Regions from separate parts of the Homo sapiens genome. Here region 1 is linked to region 2. Evidence: promoter capture Hi-C in 16 types of primary human blood cells and fetal thymus (Javierre and others, 2016). All regions are on one chromosome and are shown on one strand. Each heading gives the region's core, a stretch centred on a gene start or on the middle of the fragment in contact. The rest is flanking DNA. Distances are from core to core; before and after follow the strand shown. Region 1 overlaps AKIRIN2 (akirin 2). Region 2 holds the start of MAP3K7 (mitogen-activated protein kinase kinase kinase 7).

Region 1 (3,025 bases), core at 243-2,742, 2.9 Mb after region 2:
GCCACACCCAGCTAATTTTTGTATTTTTAGTAGAGACAGGGTTTTGCCATGTTGGCCAAGCTGGTCTTGAACTCCTGACCTCAGGTGATCTGCCCACCTCTGTCTCCCAAAGTGCTGGGATTACAGGCATGAGCCACCGCGCCCAGCCCATTGTGATTTATTTTAACATTAAATGCTAATAGAATTTTGATTAAGTGTAGTAATGTACTACTGGAGAGGGTAGTAGATGTTAAGAACTTGGGCCCTGAGGTCAAACCTGGCTCTGCCATGTTCAAGCCGTGTGACATTGCAGAAGACACTGAAGCAGAGCCTCATTTTTCTCATCTCAGGAAATGTGCACATGATGATAGTAGCATATGCCTCTTAGGGTTGTGAGAATTAAGAGCATTTACTGGCCAAGTGATGGAAATGGTCTCAAGAAGGCAACCTCAAATGGGACTTTTACTCACCAGCAAGTTTGCCTTTCAGTGACTAAGCCTGCCTTCTACAAAAGAGTTGCCATCAAATCACAGTTTTTTCATTGTTTTTAGTACCAGCACTACTGACATTTGAGCCTGTCCTGTTCTAGTATCATCGAGGATTAAACAATTATTAAAGCACTGTATATAGTGAGGGAAAGATTCCACTTTTCTCCAAAGTAACTTTATCCTCTTGATTATTCCATTTCTTCTCTCAATTGGATCTTTGCTTTTGGCTTTATATATTCACAAGCCTTCCATGAGAAAGTAAAAGAACAAAACATACTCATTTTCCTCCAGCTATCTTCCAGATTTCCTCCACTTCAAAATCAAATTCAGAGAGCTTTCAAATAGTCTGTTTGCTTCCATTTCTTCAGTTCTTAATTCCTGACATGCCTCAAGCAGCTCCTGTCAGGTCATCAGTGACTTCCATGACACTCAATCAGTCCTCCTCTTATTTGACCTTTCTTTCAGCATTCTGCCTGCTGGCACACTCCTTTCTTTTTGAAATGGCCTTTTTCTCCTTTGACTACAATTTCCCTCTACTCCCTAGCTGTTCTTCTCTTTACCTGGGCATTAAACCTTGCAGTTCTTTAGTTCTAGCTTTAGCTCCATGCTTATGTCACTTAATAGCTCCCTAAGCAGTCACATGCCTGCTCCTGACTTCAGTTTCCATTTACAGATGTCTCTTTAATTTGTATCTTCAGTTGGTTCAGACAGTTCCTCTTTAGTTGCAGCCATGGGAAATGTGGACTTTTTTTTTTTTTTTTTTTTTTTTTAAGATGAGGTTTTGCCCTGTTTCCCAGGCTGGAGTGCAGTGGTGCGATCTCGGCTCACTGCAACCTCTGCCTCCTGGGTTCAAGCAATTCTCCTGCCTCAGCCACCCAAGTAGCTGGGATTACAGATGTGTATCACCATGCCCGGCTAATTTTTGTATTTTTAGTAGAGACAGTTTCACCATGTTGGCCAGGCTGGTCTCCAACTCCTAGCCTCAAGTGATCTGCCCACCTTGGCCTCCAGAGTGCCGGGATTATAGGTGTGAGCCACCACGCCCAGCCTAATTTGGACTTTTTATCGTCAGATCTTGGTAGCCTTCGCTCCACCACTAGAAGTCAGAACTTTTGTGAAATCGATTGACTTTTAAATGTTCACAACTAATTTACAAAATACATGGGATAAATAAGAGATGTATGTAGACTTCTAATGAGTGTCTTATGGTGTGAGAGGTGGTCTTTTTGTTGTTGTTGTTGAAACCGTCTCACTCTGTTGCCCAGGCTGGAGTGCAGTGGTGCAGTCTCCGCTCGCTGCAACCTCCATCTCCTGGATTCAAGTGATTCTCCTGCTTCAGCTTCCCTAGTAGCTGGGATTACAGGTGCCCGCCATTATGCCCGTTTAACTTTTGTATTTTTAGTAGAGATAGGGTTTTACCATGTTGGCCAGACTGGTCTTGAACTCCTGACCTCAAGCCATCTGCCCACCTTGGCCTCCCAAAGTGCTGGGATTACTGGCATGAGTGACCGTGCCTGGCCTGAGAGGTGGTCTTAATTCCTCTTTTTAATAAGTGGTCATGTTGGTAAAGTAAATGAATTGCTTCATCATCAGTCACATAATGACGAATATGAATTTCCTTTTTTAAAGTGTATAAGGAGAGATGAAATAATCATTGTATATAGGTTAATGTCATGTAATGAGTTTTCCTAAGTAGGTCCAATCAAGTTAAATTAATTTGCAGAATATTTTCCTCCTACAGGAGGGGTATGTCTGACTTAGAATTACACTTGATCTTAGCCAAAAGGCTGAGAAGCAATGAACTGACAACTGCAAAAACCATTCAGGTGAGGGTGGCAAAATGATTTTAAGTTAGCTTAGGTATTTTCCTACTTGTAATAACCTTGCTGCTAATGTCTTGCTTTCCTTCCTCTCCACTCCTTAGTATGTCCAATAGTAAACCACTTTTTAAAAAATGTTCAATTAAGAGTTGGTTTTTTTTGTTTTTTTGGTTTTTTTTTTTTTGAGATGGAGTTTCGCTGTTGTTGCCCAGGCTGGAGTTCAATGGCGTCATCTCAGCTCACTGAAACCTCTGCCTCCCAAGCTCAAGCGATTCTCAGCCTCCCAAGTAGCTGGGATTACAGGCTCCTGCCACCATGCTCAGCTAATTTTTTTGTAGTTTTAGTAGAGACAGGGTTTCACCATGTTGGCCAGGCTGGCCTCCAACTCCTGACCTCAAGTGACCAACTGCCTTGGCCTCCCAAAGTGCTAGGATTACAGGCGTGAGCCACCGCCCGTGGCCAAGAGAGTTGTTATTTTAAGCAGGGGCTAGAAACTTTAAATACGCATAGTTCCAGATGTGTAAATGATTTAAAGTAAACTAGGAGGGAACTAGTGAATTCCAGTCCTGACCGGCAGCATCACCTCATAAGGAACGTAGAATCTTAAGCTCCACCCTTCAGAGTCTACATTTTAACAAGATCTGGAGGTAATCTGTGTGTGCATTAAAATTGTAGAAGCACTTGAGAACTTAGGCCCAAAAGGTAACAGTCACTTTGAATCTTCAGCTGAGTTTTGCT
Region 2 (2,969 bases), core at 408-2,907:
GAAAGGGAGGACTGACAAAAGCTATTCATTTGTACAGAATATCTAAGTATTTATTGAGTTCCCACCTGGCAGCAAGATCAAGGTGTTAAAAGGAAATCGGATATAGACCTGCAGAGTTATAGCACAAGGTAAGAAGTGACCATCCTTGTTTGGAAATGCAAGGGGAATGACAGGTGAAAATGACTGTCCCACTGATTATATCAGCTTCTACTGGGTATCAGTGCACCACGCATCATTTCACATGCCCTGATTTCTCACTTGGACAACCAACTGGGTGATGGCATCCTTAAGTGACATAGGAAAATAACATAGGAATATATTTGTGGTGGGTGACAACTTTTGAATTTGCTGTGGTATCTTGAAGTTTAGGTGTTTGTCTAAGTAGAGATGACCAATAGGTCCAGAATTCAGGAAAAATCTTGAGTATTTGGAGATTAGGAGTCATCATTATAAAAATAGTATGAGAAACAGAGACCTTGGGTAAGAGCATGCAAAGAGAGAGTGTACAGTGAAAAGAAATTATCGTTTCTTTCATTTTTTTATCCACTCATCAAACTGTCACTGCGTGTCACTAGAACTACGAATAAAAAGTGACAGAATGTTTCCCAGGAGTTTGTAACTTCTTGATGGTCAAATCCAATGATCTATTTGCAATCCCAAATGTGTTTAACATAATTCCACAGTTAGGCTTTATGTCAAACGGACTATATAAAATTCAACAGTTAGTTTAAAACTAAAACTTGTGCTGGTAGTACAACATGAGCAATACTGACCATCTTGGGGACAGAATGATCTAGTTTGTGAGGACCATAATTGCTTTAAACTCTCAGCGTGTTTTCTCATGTCCTGAAAATGGTGACAAAAATATTCGATTTTCAAGGCGACTGTTGATGATTCATTTACCAATCTAAAGCACTAGTGCCCCGCACTCGTAATCCATAACTTGAGATGAACACACCAAATTATAAATATCTTATTCACCTAATCCGTGGAAAGTTTGTAACACCAAAATATTAACTTCTGTTCTTGATCACTCAGCCTCCATAGTTATTCATGTTGCATGATCTGATTCGCTCTTTTAGAATTTCTCATAGCGTCAGGTACTAGCTCAAAATAACAGGAGCAACTGCTTCTTTCCATATCCCACATTGAGGAAAACACATTTTGCAAGCCGTCTTAAAGAAACAGGTCAACTTAGTTTAGGGATGAAACTTAAAAGTAAGCTTCGTCACAAAAAACACAGTTCAACACCACCTCGCCCGGCTGCAGGCAGCTCAGAGGACAGGAAGTGAGGCCAAGACATATTTCACGCAGCACAGACTAAACCCCAGCTTTTATCTTTCCCGCTGGTCCTTAAGGGACCAACCGTACTGATTTTCCGTCATGTTCCGCGCCACTTCCGTTCGCGCACTTTAATTACGTCAGGCGTCCTCTCTCGCGGTATCATCCGGTTGCTGAGGCCCTGTAATAAAGGTCTCGCGAAATTTGTTCTAGAGGTCCAAGTTTGCTTCTTAGCTTACTCCACCCCACCCCCAACCTGTCCCTCCTTTTCTTTCCAAGTCACAAAATTCTCCCCTCCCCTACCCCGGAGTTTACGGCCCTCCTCCTGTTTCCGATTTCAGCCCGGAACCGGAAGTGTAGTGGGCGGGGCCCGTCGGCGGAAAACGCAGCGGAGCCAGAGCCGGACACGGCTGTGGCCGCTGCCTCTACCCCCGCCACGGATCGCCGGGTAGTAGGACTGCGCGGCTCCAGGCTGAGGGTCGGTCCGGAGGCGGGTGGGCGCGGGTCTCACCCGGATTGTCCGGGTGGCACCGTTCCCGGCCCCACCGGGCGCCGCGAGGGATCATGTCTACAGCCTCTGCCGCCTCCTCCTCCTCCTCGTCTTCGGCCGGTGAGATGATCGAAGCCCCTTCCCAGGTCCTCAACTTTGAAGAGATCGACTACAAGGAGATCGAGGTGGAAGAGGTGAGCGAGGCCCGGCATGGAGACGCCGGTCCCGGCCTGCCCCGCCCCCGCCTCTGCCTGGTGCCGGCTCTGAAGGTGCCTCCCGGGGCCCCTCTAATTCGCGGGACCCTGCGGGGTCCACCCGGGAGACCCCACAGCCCTCAGTAACGTGGGAGTGGGGGTTACTCTCTGAGCTCAACTGCTCGGGAGTAGCTGCCTTTTTTCCTCTCTTGGGTACTCTTGATTTTGGATTTGATATTCCGGTGATAAACAGGAGAATGAACTGGTGAGATAGTGTGGTCCACCAGTTCTCGTATCTGTAAGTAGTAGTTTCAGCGAAGATCGTAGCCGTTCTGGAGTTTCAGTCCGCTGGACGTAATGTTCTTTTTTTTTTTTTTTTTTTTTTGAGACGGAGTCTCGCTCTGTCGCCCAGGCCGGACTGCGGACTGCAGTGGCGCAATCTCGGCTCACTGCAAGCTCCGCTTCCCGGGTTCACGCCATTCTCCTGCCTCAGCCTCCCGAGTAGCTGGGACTACAGGCGCCCGCCACCGCGCCTGGCTAATTTTTTGTATTTTTAGTAGAGACGGGGTTTCACCTTGTTAGCCAGGATGGTCTCGATCTCCTGACCTCATGATCCACCCGCCTCGGCCTCCCAAAGTGCTGGGATTACAGGCGTGAGCCACCGGGCCCGGCCGGACGTAATGTTCTTAATGGCCAAAGATTGTATTATATTCGACTTCTACTTCAGTACCTGGCATGTAGGGGATGCTCAATAAATGCTTGTTAAATTAGTAGATCATCAAGTCTAATAAAGTGTTTCCCTTAGCACCGAATGGTTCTCAATTTCTCCGATACCGCACAGCAATACTCGTAATGTTTAAATGCTCGGCTTTCAGTTGGGCTAATGTAGGTGAATTTCACCATAAGTAACATAGACTGGTCTACGATCAAAAGATGTTTCAAGTAGCATATTCTGAAGAGATAACGAATGATTTCGGTGACAATCAGAATATAATATTAGACTA

The links. The method cuts DNA at HindIII sites, captures the fragments that hold promoters and counts their contacts. A CHiCAGO score of 5 or more calls a contact.
Region 1: a fragment that was not itself captured here is called in contact with the fragment with the promoter of MAP3K7 in region 2 in 1 of 17 cell types (naive CD8 T cells); the score reaches 7.5 in naive CD8 T cells.

What each region holds. Positions count from the first base shown.
Region 1 is chr6:87,689,653-87,692,677 of GRCh38, reverse strand. The region is part of intron 1 of AKIRIN2 (akirin 2); the gene reads left to right. Among named protein-coding and RNA genes, the nearest start is that of AKIRIN2, 11 kb to the left of the region's middle. The HindIII fragment of the contact is 9,255 bases long and covers 1-3,025 here.
Region 2 is chr6:90,585,760-90,588,728 of GRCh38, reverse strand. It overlaps MAP3K7 (mitogen-activated protein kinase kinase kinase 7), which reads left to right and starts at 1,657. Exons shown (of 17, transcript NM_145331.3): 1 at 1,657-1,965. The coding sequence starts at 1,846. It overlaps LOC124901363 (a long non-coding RNA gene), which reads right to left and starts at 1,935. Exons shown (of 2, transcript XR_007059680.1): 1 at 774-1,935. RefSeq lists silencers at 1,525-1,721, 1,718-1,837. The HindIII fragment of the contact is 2,842 bases long and covers 1,226-2,969 here.